Linked DNA regions of Homo sapiens: region 2 is linked to region 1. Evidence: promoter capture Hi-C in human tissues and cell types (Jung and others, 2019). All regions are on one chromosome and are shown on one strand. Each heading gives the region's core, a stretch centred on a gene start or on the middle of the fragment in contact. The rest is flanking DNA. Distances are from core to core; before and after follow the strand shown. Region 1 holds the start of KL (klotho). Region 2 overlaps PDS5B (PDS5 cohesin associated factor B).

What was found. The method cuts DNA at HindIII sites, captures the fragments that hold promoters and counts their contacts. A contact is called where the count stands out against the background at its distance.
Region 2: a fragment that was not itself captured here is called in contact with the fragment with the promoter of KL in region 1 in 1 of the 25 tissues and cell types used here (dorsolateral prefrontal cortex).

What each region holds. Positions count from the first base shown.
Region 1 is chr13:33,012,853-33,018,474 of GRCh38, reverse strand. KL (klotho) reads right to left here and starts at 2,052. Exons shown (of 5, transcript NM_004795.4): 1 at 1,216-2,052. The coding sequence starts at 2,034. LOC124903151 (translation initiation factor IF-2-like) reads left to right here and starts at 2,022. Exons shown (of 2, transcript XM_047430819.1): 1 at 2,022-2,639; 2 at 4,840-5,622. The coding sequence starts at 2,033. The coding sequence ends at 5,030. RefSeq lists enhancers at 1,027-1,086, 1,295-1,872, 1,873-2,448 and silencers at 1,157-1,256, 1,947-2,016. The HindIII fragment of the contact is 14,739 bases long and covers 1-5,622 here.
Region 2 is chr13:32,593,701-32,599,322 of GRCh38, reverse strand. The region is part of intron 1 of PDS5B (PDS5 cohesin associated factor B); the gene reads right to left. Among named protein-coding and RNA genes, the nearest start is that of PDS5B, 10 kb to the right of the region's middle. The HindIII fragment of the contact is 7,594 bases long and covers 1-5,622 here.

The sequences.
Region 1 (5,622 bases), core at 803-3,302:
TGACATAAAATCTAATTTAGCCATTATTACAACATTACCAGCAGCTCAGAGCACTAAGTCACCTCAATAACCCAGTACTGCTCTGCCCATATTATCTATGGCTTTAATTAAAAGTGTTTAGAAATGGTTTTAGTACTGACTTTGTTCAGAATATGTGGCTGAATTCTAAATTTAAAAATAAGTCTTCCAGTAGGCCCACAAGTGATCAGAATTGGGTACCAAAAGTTGTACATTTAAACACTTTTATTAAAATGTTTATACATGTACATAAAATATTTTATTGTGATACAAAACTCTGTACAAAGTGTACTAACAACTGACATGATTATAAATGAATCCCCAAAACAATGGTGCCTAAATTTGAACACTAAGGAGAAAAAAGGAGGAAGAAATACTTGAGACAACTTTACCATGGCATAGCAATATTTCCTGCTGTCAAAATTAATAAAATATTTTGCACAAGGGTGTTACAATTAATTTTATCAGGCTAACAATGTCATAAGTGAGGAACCCTTTCAACTGTAGAGAGCACTGTGGAAATATAGATGTGGTAGAACAATCTATATCACCCTGCAGTTGTTTCTGTGTTTCTATGACTAGCTTTGTTTGAGATTGTATAAAGCGGTCTTCACACCCCGGTGAATAAGATTGGTGGATGCAGTTCCCTGCCCTGCCGCAGAAGGGACCTCCAAACACAGTTTAAATCTGACTCTCCGGGAGTTGTGTTTTGACACTTTCACAACAGTGTGAACTTGTGCCACAAGCAAGACAGATCTTATTGGATTAACACTGAACTCGTGACAGCTCCAGAGAGTAATGCTATCTGTGCGGCTTAAGAACAAACGTGTTTCTTTCATCCACCCTGCTCATTCTCTTCCTGCAGTTACTCCTAGCAAATCCTCCCCGCCCTCACCTCTAGGAATTCCTCTACACCCAGAGAAAGGAGTTTCTTTCCTCACTGCGGAAACCTATCACCGCTTCCTTTCCACAGATGGACTCCAAGGGGCACTCACTCGTGTGCCCACTAAGGGATTTCTCTCCTAATTCCACGCCTTCCAAGGGAAGTCAGAACTGCTCAGTTTCCCCCGGTGACCACATACACGTGTCCAAGTGAAGCCTCGTCTGGGGGAGACTCAGTTCCCACACTTCCCCCTGGCCCCTGTGGAGGCCCTCTGTCTCCCCTGCGTGGCCCTCCGCCTGGCCCCTCGCACTCACCAGGAGGAGGTTGTGCGCCACCAGGTACCCGAGCCGCGGGCTGCCCCGGATGCCGGGGGCCAGGCGCCCGGTGGCGTAGCCGTGCCAGGCCACCACGTAGGGGTTGTCGATGGTGATCCAGTACTTGACCTGACCGCCGAAGTGGCGGAAGCAGAGCTCCGCGTAATCCCTGAAGTGGTCGGCCAGGGCGCGGTTGGCCCAGCCGCCGTAGGCGTCCTGCAGGCGCTGGGGCAGGTCCCAGTGGTACAGGGTGACCACGGGCTGCACGCCCAGCTCCCGCAGCCGCTCCAGCAGGCGCCGGTAGTAGCGCAGCCCCTCGCGGTTGGGGACGCCCGCGCTGCCATTGGGGAGCACTCGCGCCCACGAGATGGAGAAGCGGTAGTGAGTGACCCCGAGCTCGCGCAGCGCCTCCGTGTCGCGGAAGACGTTGTTGTAGCTGTCGCTGGCTACGTCCCCGGTGGCGGGCTGCAGCGGCGACGGGGCGCCCAACGGCAGACTGGCGTTCCGGGAGTCTCCCGGGGGTGCCAGGGGGTGGTGGGTGAACGTATCCCAGATGGACGCACCCTTGCCGTGCTGCTGCCAGCCGCCCTCGGTCTGGTAGGCGGCGCTGCCCACGGCCCAGAGGAAGCCGTCGGGGAAGGTGCCCTGGAAGAGGCCCGCGGCCTCGGGGGCAGGAGGCCGCGAGAAACGGGCCCAGGTCTGCGCGCCGTCGCCCGGCTCCGCACGCAGGCGGCGGCCGCCCAGGCCCAGCAGCACCAGCAGCAGCGACAGCGACGGCGGCGGCGGCCGCGGGCGGCGCGGCGGGGCGCTGGCGGGCATGCTGCGCGGGAGCCAGGCTCCGGGGCCCCGCGCCGCGCCCCTTTATGCCCGCGCCCCGCCGCGCCCGCCCGCCCACCGCCGGCGCGCCCACCCCCGCTCCCCGGCGGGCTCCGCTGGCAATAATTACCTGCGAGCCGGGACTGCCTCCGCCCTGGCACTGGGGGCGGGGGCAGGGGCGCCGAGGGCGAGGGGTGCCCGGGAGGGGCGCGGCAGCGGGCAAGGTGCGGCAGGCGTCGCCCGCGGACGTCGGAGAAAGGCACCTGTTTCTCCCAGCTCCCGGGAGCCGTGCAGGACGTTTCGTGGACGCTCAGGTTCATTCTCTTTGCCTGCCGCGCGTCCTCTGAGAGCAGCCCTGGAGCGGCTTCGTCGGGGAGAAAAGGCGCCGACCAACTTTCCCCGACTTGGGGGCGGGATCCTGCCGGGCCCTAGCGGAGCGCGCCGCTGGGGAAGCACCTGCTCTCACTTTTCTCCCACTCGGAGGCCCAAAGAAGCTCCGGCTGGACATTGCTGGAGCCAATTAGGGACTGGCCGAAATCCTAGAGGGACTGCCAGGTGGGACAGCCGAGGGGGAACTTCGCCGTGCGCTGAAAGGGATTCCCCCTTAGGTGAGATGCTCGCGGGGAGACGCGCCCACCCGCGCCCCTCTTTCGAGGAAGACAAAGTAGATTTATGGGTTGCGTTGGGACTGGGGTTTTGCTCTCCCTTTTACTGTTACCTTTTAATAATTTCAAACCAGCACTCTATCTTTGATTAGATCTCTCAGAATACCCTGGTGAACTTCAAATCACAGTCGTTGATTGTTCTCCTGAAAAACCAAACACCAAGTTTCCAATTTTGAGTAAATCTCATTCACCTTTATTATCCTTTGGCATCTGTGTTACCTTTCGGCTCTGACTTAGCAGGTAATCTGTGCAAAGTTGTGCGCACAGGTCTGCTGGAGCGGGAGGTCCCTGGGTCGCACATTTGCCATCTGAGCTGTGGAGGGAAAGGGGAGGGAGAATTTAGCCGGAACACCCATTCCCATCCTCTACAATACAATGGAGCCATGACGTTTTTCCTGTTGCCAAAGAGCCCTTTTGACAGAAGTTGCAGAGCCACAGTGTCCATTTGGATGTGGGTAGATAGGATTGTGGCTAACCGAAATACAGTTGGTGGAGACTGAGAAGGTCTAGGCTCCACCTTTGTGATTTGGGGCAGGAAACCTCTGTAAGCCTAAGTTTCCTCCTCTATAAAATAAGGATGTCCTGTCTGCCCTGCCGCCTCAGAGGCTTGTGAAGTCCAGTGAAAAACTGCGCAAAGGTGACTCAAAGACAGAAAGCCCAGACAAGTGAAGGATCTTGCTAATATCCCTACCTCCCTACCCAGTAAGTCGTGCCTTAGTTTCCTCACCCGTACACGTGTGTTGAATGACCAAGATCCTCACAGAGGTGCATCCATTCTCCCCCAGTGATCTATCTTCCCTGCATTATTTAATACAAATTTAAAGGCAATAACATTTTAAATGTTGCAGATGAAGGTGCTTTTATTAATTCCCCTGAAATATAAGCACAAATTTATTCCAGTATTTTATGAAATATTCCCAACTCCAGCCAGCATATATTACCATGATTAGTAAGATTAAGTCTTCAGATTGAAACAGAGTTACTGCCATTCTGTTAAATATAGCATTTACATTTTTTCAATAAATACGAAATAGCAAACCATGACACTTCAGCAATTTTAAAAAATTACAGCACACAACTTCACTGTCACGCTGTCTTCCAGCTAAATTTAAAAAGCTACGTCTACATGGAGTATCACATTTCCCTTCTAGAAGTGAAGATTGGAGTGTCTGTTGGGTTGTAGCTTGTTAAGTTTCAATTAGAAATGCTTCATGGGTCTCATGGAAAATCGCTTAAGCTAAGTATTCATTTATTGATGTATGGTCTGTTTGCTCAGGGCAGATTTTATCTATTGCTATTTTTACTTGACCAGCAGCATTTTTTAAATTTTAAAGCAGTGATTAAAAAGCAAGACCAAGTTAACTAAACGTTTCACATTTGAAATTTGTCTGCCACATAGGCACATGCATCTCAAAGCTTTAAGCATTCCAAGACATGTTCCCAGATGATTGTTCATTTAACCCAGTGATAAAGATTGCATGATGATTAAACTTTATTTCCAGAACTTTCTGTTTATTAAGGTTCTGTTCATGGTTACTAAGTTCTGGGTTCCACAAGTGTGAGACGGAGTCTCACTCTGTCGCCCAGGCTGGAGTGCAGTGGCATGGTCTCTGCTCACTGCAACCTCTGCCTCCCAGGTTCAAGCAATTCTCCTGTCTCAGCCCCCCAGTAGCTGGGATTATAAGGGCACACCACCACACCTGGCTAATTTTTGTATTTTTAGTAGAGACAGGGTTTCACCATGCTGACCAGGCTGGTCTCAAACTCCTGATCTCCTGTGATCCACCCACCTCGGTCTCCTAAAATGCTGGGATTACAGGTGTGAGACACTGTGCCCGGCCTAGTGCTGCTGCTTATTTATTTTGGCTTTATTTTGGTTTTTATTTTTTACAACCACCTTCAAACATCTGAAACTTGGGTTTCAAATGCAAATAAGAGATTAATTACTTGCTGTGCTTTGAACAGGAAGGTGAAGTTATTGATGCATTGAAGAAAAGGACATTGTAAATTTATTTACTGACTTTGATTTTGGTGACAATTTCAACACTGAAAGTTGTCAACAATCTGATCAACTTTTCCTCCATTCTCCACATTCCTTCATCCAGTGCCTTCCCACCTGTTCTCTTTCCTATTGTGTTCCCAGGACGATGGGAGCCTTTTAACACCAATGGAGCAGGAGATGCACTGATTCACATGCACCCAAATACAACACCAACCCCACAAGCTCTCAGCTCACCAGTCACAGACATCACCTTCTACGGACATATTTTTATTTCACTGAGCTACAACTACGGGCAAGGCAACGACGAGCTGTGTGGAGACTTCAAAACATAGAGGACAACCTCTGCCCTCAAAGACAACATCCAACTGAAGAAAGGATCAAGAAAGATGAAAATAAATAAGTTGTTTGATTATGCTGTGTTAATAAATGACCCATAGAATAATTGTCAGAGAAATTCAGAAGAAGAAGAAATTACCCTATTTTGAGTTGTTTGGAAAAGTTTAACAGAGAAAAATATGACAATATCTGGGGTTTAAAGAGTAAAACTCGCACAAAGACCTGGAGGGAAGGAATCAAGAGATGCCAACACTGAAGAAAAAAACATGTTCATAGTGTATTCGTGGTGAAAAGAAAGGGTTTTTGTGCGCAAGGAAGTAATGGACCAAAATGCAGTAGTCCCAGTGCCTAGAATCATGCTGAGCACAAAACAAGTATTTGTTTAATGAGCAAATGAAAGTAGAGTTTCATTTGTCCAGTTAACAAAATACACAAGTATTCCCTGCCCTCCTCTTTTTAAAATTAATTAATTAATTAATTTTTAACAGACAAAAAATTATATATATTTTCATGTACAGCATGTTATTTTAAAATATATACACATTTGTAGAGTGGCTAAATTGAGCTAATAAACGTATGTATTACCTC
Region 2 (5,622 bases), core at 1,243-3,742, 420 kb after region 1:
CACTGCACTCCAGCCTGGGTGACAAAACAAGATGCAATCTCGCAAAAAAAATAAAAATAAAAATAAGCTCAGCAAACTCCAAACAGAATACAAAAACAATTCACAAATTCAATATAACTTTATCCTACTCAATATGAATGTTATATTTATATGACAATAACTTTCAACATCAAATTGTTGAAAGTTAAAGAAACAATGGAGACCAGAGAAGAATAAAATGACATCTTTAAATTGATTAAAGGAAAAAAACTGAGGCTGGGCGTGGTGGCTCACGCCTGTAATCCCAGCACTTTGGGAAGCCGAGGCAGACGGATCACGAGGTCAGGAGATCGAGACCATCCTGGCTAACACAGTGAAACCCCGTCTCTACTAAAAATACAAAAAATTAGCTGGGCGCCGTGGCAGGCGCCTATAGTCCCAGCTACTTGGAAGGCTGAGGCAGGAGAATGGCGTGAACCCAGGAGGCGGAGCCTGCAGTAAGCCGAGATAGTGCCACTGCACTCCTGCCTAGGTGACAGGGCAAGACTCTGTCTCAAAAAAAAAAAAAAAAAAGAGAGAAAAAAAACCATCAACTGAGAATTCTATATCCAGCAAAAATATCCTTGAAAAATGACAGTAAAATATAGATATATTTAAAGTAATGAAAACTGATGCTATTACTAGACCTATGCATTATGCAACATTAAAGGAAATTCTTGGTGGCATGTGCCTGTAGTCCTAGCTACCCAGGAGGCTAAGGCAGGAGGACTGCTTGAGCCCAGGAATTTGAGGTTACAGTGAACTGGGTACACCACTGCACTTCAGCCTGAGCAATACAGTGAGACCCTGTCTCTAAATAAGTTAATAAAATGGAATATTTAAAAACTACAATAATCTCAATAAATACCAAAAAGGAGAGAGGGTATCTGACAAAATTCAGCACCCATTCATAATTTAAAAATAAAAATCCTGGCCAGGCGCGGTGGCTCACGCCTGTAATCCCAGCACTTTGGGAGGCCAAGGCAGGTGGATCACAAGGTCAGGAGTTCGAGACCAGCCTGGCCAACATAGTGAAACCCCATCTCTACTAAAAATACAAAAAAATTTGCTGGGCGTGGTGGCGGGTGCCTGTAGTCCCAGATACTTGAGAGGCTGAGGCAGAATTGCTTGAACCCGGGAGGTGGAGGTTGCAGTGCGCCAAGATCACACCACTGCACCCCAGCCTAGGTGACAGAGTGAGACTCCATCTCAAAAAGTAAATTAATTAATTTGATTTAATTAAAATCCCAGTAAACTGGAAGGAAACGTCTCGTCTGATTTTCTTTTTTTTAATCTACAGAATATCCACTGCTGACATACTACTTACTGGGGAAAGACTAAATGCCTTCCCCCTTAAGATCACAACAAGACCAGGATGTTCACTCTCATTTAAAAAAAAATTCATCATTTTAAAACATATTTTATGTTAACACTGAAATTAATTTTCTTTTTTTTTTTTTTGAGACAGAGTCTCGCTGTCGCCAGGCTGGAGTGCAGTGGCACGACCTCTGCTCACTGCAACCTCTGCCTCCCAGGTTCAAGCAATTCTCCTGCCTCAGCCTCCTGAGTAGCTGGTACTACAGATGCACACCACCATGCCCAACTAATTTTTGTATTTTTTAGTAGAGACAGGGTTTCACCATGTTAGCCAGGATGGTCTCTATCTCTTGACCTTGCAACCCCCGCACCCCCTGCCGCCCCCCCCTCGGCCTCAGCCTCCCAAAGTGCTCGGATTACAGGCATGGGCCACTGCGCCCGGCCTCTTTCTTTTTTTTAAAGAGACAGGATCTCTCTGTGTTACCCAGGCTGGACTCGAACTCCTGGGCTCAAGCAATCCTCTTGCTTCCCAAGTAGTTGGGACTACAGGACCATACCACTGCACCCAGCCACTCTCACCATTTCTCTTCAATGTTGTATTGAAGATCCCAGATGCTGCAATAACATGTGAAAAAGAAATTAAAGGGCCAGGCACACTGGCTCATGCCTGTAATCCCAGCACTTTGGGAGGCTGAGGCAGGAAGATCACTTGAGCCTAGGAGTTCAACACCAGCCTGGGCAACATGGCGAACCCCATCTCTACAAAAAATACAAAAAAAAAAAAAAATGAGCCAGCCATGGTGGCACGTATCTGTAGACCCAGCTACTCAGGAGGCTGAGATAGGAGGGTGGCTTGAGCCCAAAAGTTCCAGGCTGCAGTGAGCTATGATGGCGCCACTAAACTCTAGCCTGGGAGAGTGAGACGCTGTCTCAAAAAAATAAAAAATAAAAAGAACTCAAAGCACAATCCATAAAACAAAAAGTTGATTGACTGGACTTCATCAAATTTTAAAACTTCCACTCATCAAAATACTGTTAAAAAAAAGATAAGGCAAGCTACAAAACAGGAGAAAATACTCTTAATACTCTGATCTGACATAGAATTTGTATCGTGAGTACATTAAGAATTCCTGCATATCAATAGTAAAAAGATAATCCATTTTTTAATGGGCAGAAAGCTTGAAGAGGCATCCTACGAAAGAAAATATACTGTCAACAACCATGCAAAAAGGTGCTCAACATCACTAGATATCAAGGAAATCCAAAATAAAACCACAATGAGATACCCTTCCACACCCACTAGAATAGCTAAAATTAAAAAGATTGACTAACCAAGTGTTGGTGAGGATGTAAAACAACTAGAACATTCATATATTCAGGTGGGAATATAAAAAGGAAAACCACTTTGAAAAACTAGTTTCCTGTAAAGTTAAACACACATATGCCTACAAACCAGCAATTCCATTCCTAGGTATTTACTCAAGAGAAATGAAAACACACACTTGCAAAAAGATCTGTATAGGCCTTATTCATAATAGTCAAAAACTGGATTCTACCCAAATGTCCATCAACAGAAGATAAACTGTGAAATATTCCCCCAATGAAATATTACTTAGCAATAAAAACTGATACATCCAACCCCATGGATGAATCTCAAAATATGTTAAGCAAAAGAAGCCAGATACACAAGAGCACACACTGTATGAAGATAGAACAAAACTAATCTACATTTAAAAATCAAAGAGTGTTTGGAGGCAAAAGAAATTGAATGGAGAGAGCAACAAGGAAACGTTGTGGGGTAATAAAAATGCTCTACATCTTCTTGTGGTTATTGGTTACATGTGTATAATCATCACACCTCATCAAAGTGAACAGCTAAGATCTGCACATTTTACTGTATTTTAATTACACCTCAATAAAAATAAAATTTTATATTTCTAAATAAATCTGTGAGCTTAATATTGTATTAATTTTCCTTGTCTTGGGTTGTCACATATATGTTTAGTATATATACATTATTACACATATTCAATAAATATTCATCATCTACAATGCGCTGAAATCTTTGCTAGATCCCAAAGTAACTGCAAGTCCATGGCCTCAAGAAGCCCACCTCGGCCTCCTAAAGTGCTGGAATTACAGATGTAAGCCACTGTGTGTGGCTGCCAGCATTTTCTTTTATTTCCTTATAGGTCCTTTGAACCCCCCAAACAATGAAATGTTCTAGCATCCTATTGTTAGACCCTTTGTCTCTGTGTCTAATTGATAGTTCTCTGCTTATTAACAGCTCAGTTTGGTTTATTCACGTGTCCAAAGTTCTCCTTTTCATCTTCTATTCAGGACCCAATAGGAAGGTTTTTCCAATACCTAACTCTTCTTTTAGGGAATGCATGGTGGTTCTTTCTCCTTCTCACAGACTCTGTGTATACCTCTATTGTGGAAATCCCATGCTATGTGTTACTATTTGTTTAAGTATGTGGTTCCTTCTACATAGTTGTGTTTTGAAACCCCCAGAAGGATATAACATAACATTAACATATATAAACTTTTGTGGGAGTCTAGGAATGAGGCAAATGGGGAAGGAATGAGAGGTTTTTTATTGTGTATCTTTTTCCTTTTTGCCGTCTTACTTTTGGAGTATATATGTGCATATAATTTAAAATAATAATAACCTTTAAAAATACTATATCAGAATCAACAGGATTTGGTAACTTATGTAATGTGAGAGTTAGGGGAGATGGAGAAGTCAAGATGACTCCCAGGTTTCTAGCATGATGATAAACCTAGTCATGTCATCCCCTACAACATTTTTTTTTTTAAGAAAGAAATCTGTTATTAATCAAGGTACAAGTTGGAAAGATGTTAAAGAGTAAGAGAAGGTAGATCAGTTTGGGATATATTGTACTGGAGGTGTTGTGTCCAACAGTGCACTAGAAAAAGAAGATGGGAAATTCAGGAGAATGGTCAGGGGACATAGTTGTTACTAGAAGCCTTGGAGAAGAAGACACGTATATGAGGCTAATTTATCTAGGAATTACTTATTCTGTAAGACCAATTAACAGGGATGAAACCAAGACCCACAGAATAAACTAAAAAAGCAACTATATCAAAACGACAGCGTAAGACCATATATTGGTATCCTTTTCATACAGACATCAGGCTCTCACTAAAAGATTATTTACTAATTTAGTCCCCCAGGTTCATAACAGATTAGAAACATCAAAAAAAGGTGTAGGAATAGCTTCCAGAGGCAATCATCTGGCAGCAGCATGAGGGTACAAAAACAAAAACAAATAGTTTAAGACTTCAAAAAGCATTGCATTCTTTACTCTTCATTAAAGCCAGAAATCCCATCTTTCCATCATCTAAGACTTGGTCAAAATGGTTGCTCCTTCAAGAATTTTTTCATAGTTCCTGTACTCTCAGAGTAACATGACTAATCTCCATTTGTCAAGTTTCCAATTCCAAATATTGTATTGAGCCCTTCCTGAAGGCACTAACTATACTCTGGCTTGTTTTATAAGTATTTTTATACCAGCCTCTTTCCTCCCACTTGAATATACATCTCTTGATTGAGTATCTTTCATCTTTGTATCTCTAGCCAGCACTGTGCACCACATCCTTGCACAGTATGGAAGTATGCAAACATCCATTCAGTAATTATCCCATTTTTGCATTCTCTAAAACTATGTAAATGGACTTTGCCACACAGTCTCCCTGCAAAAAGTTATAACTGCTTTTTTACTGTGTACTTACATTTTGGCACCAACCTAAGCATTTGACCTGGCTTATCCCAAACACTAAAGAAATAAGGGGTGATGGGAAGTGACAGCTAGTAGGTTCGGGGGTTTTATTTTTATGCTTTTTAACCAGCATATAATTGTACATGTTTGTGGGTTACATGGTGATACTTCAACATATACAATGTGTAATGATCAAATCGGGGTAATTAACATATCCATCACTTCAAACATTTATCATTTATTTGTGTTGGGAACATTCAAAAGCCTCTCTTCTAGCTAGTTGAAAATATGTAACAACAACACAGGTTTGAACTGTGCAGGTTCATTTATACATGGATTTTTTTCAGTAAAAGTTACAGTGCGCCTCCCTCTCCTGCCTCCTCTTCCACCTCCTCTCTCTCTTCCACCTTGCCACCCTCGAGACAACAAGACTAATCCTTCCTTTTCCTCCTTCTCCTCAACCTATTCAACAGGAAGACAAGAAGGCTGACGACCTTTACGATGATCCACTTCCACTTAATGAATAGCAAATATATTTTCCTTC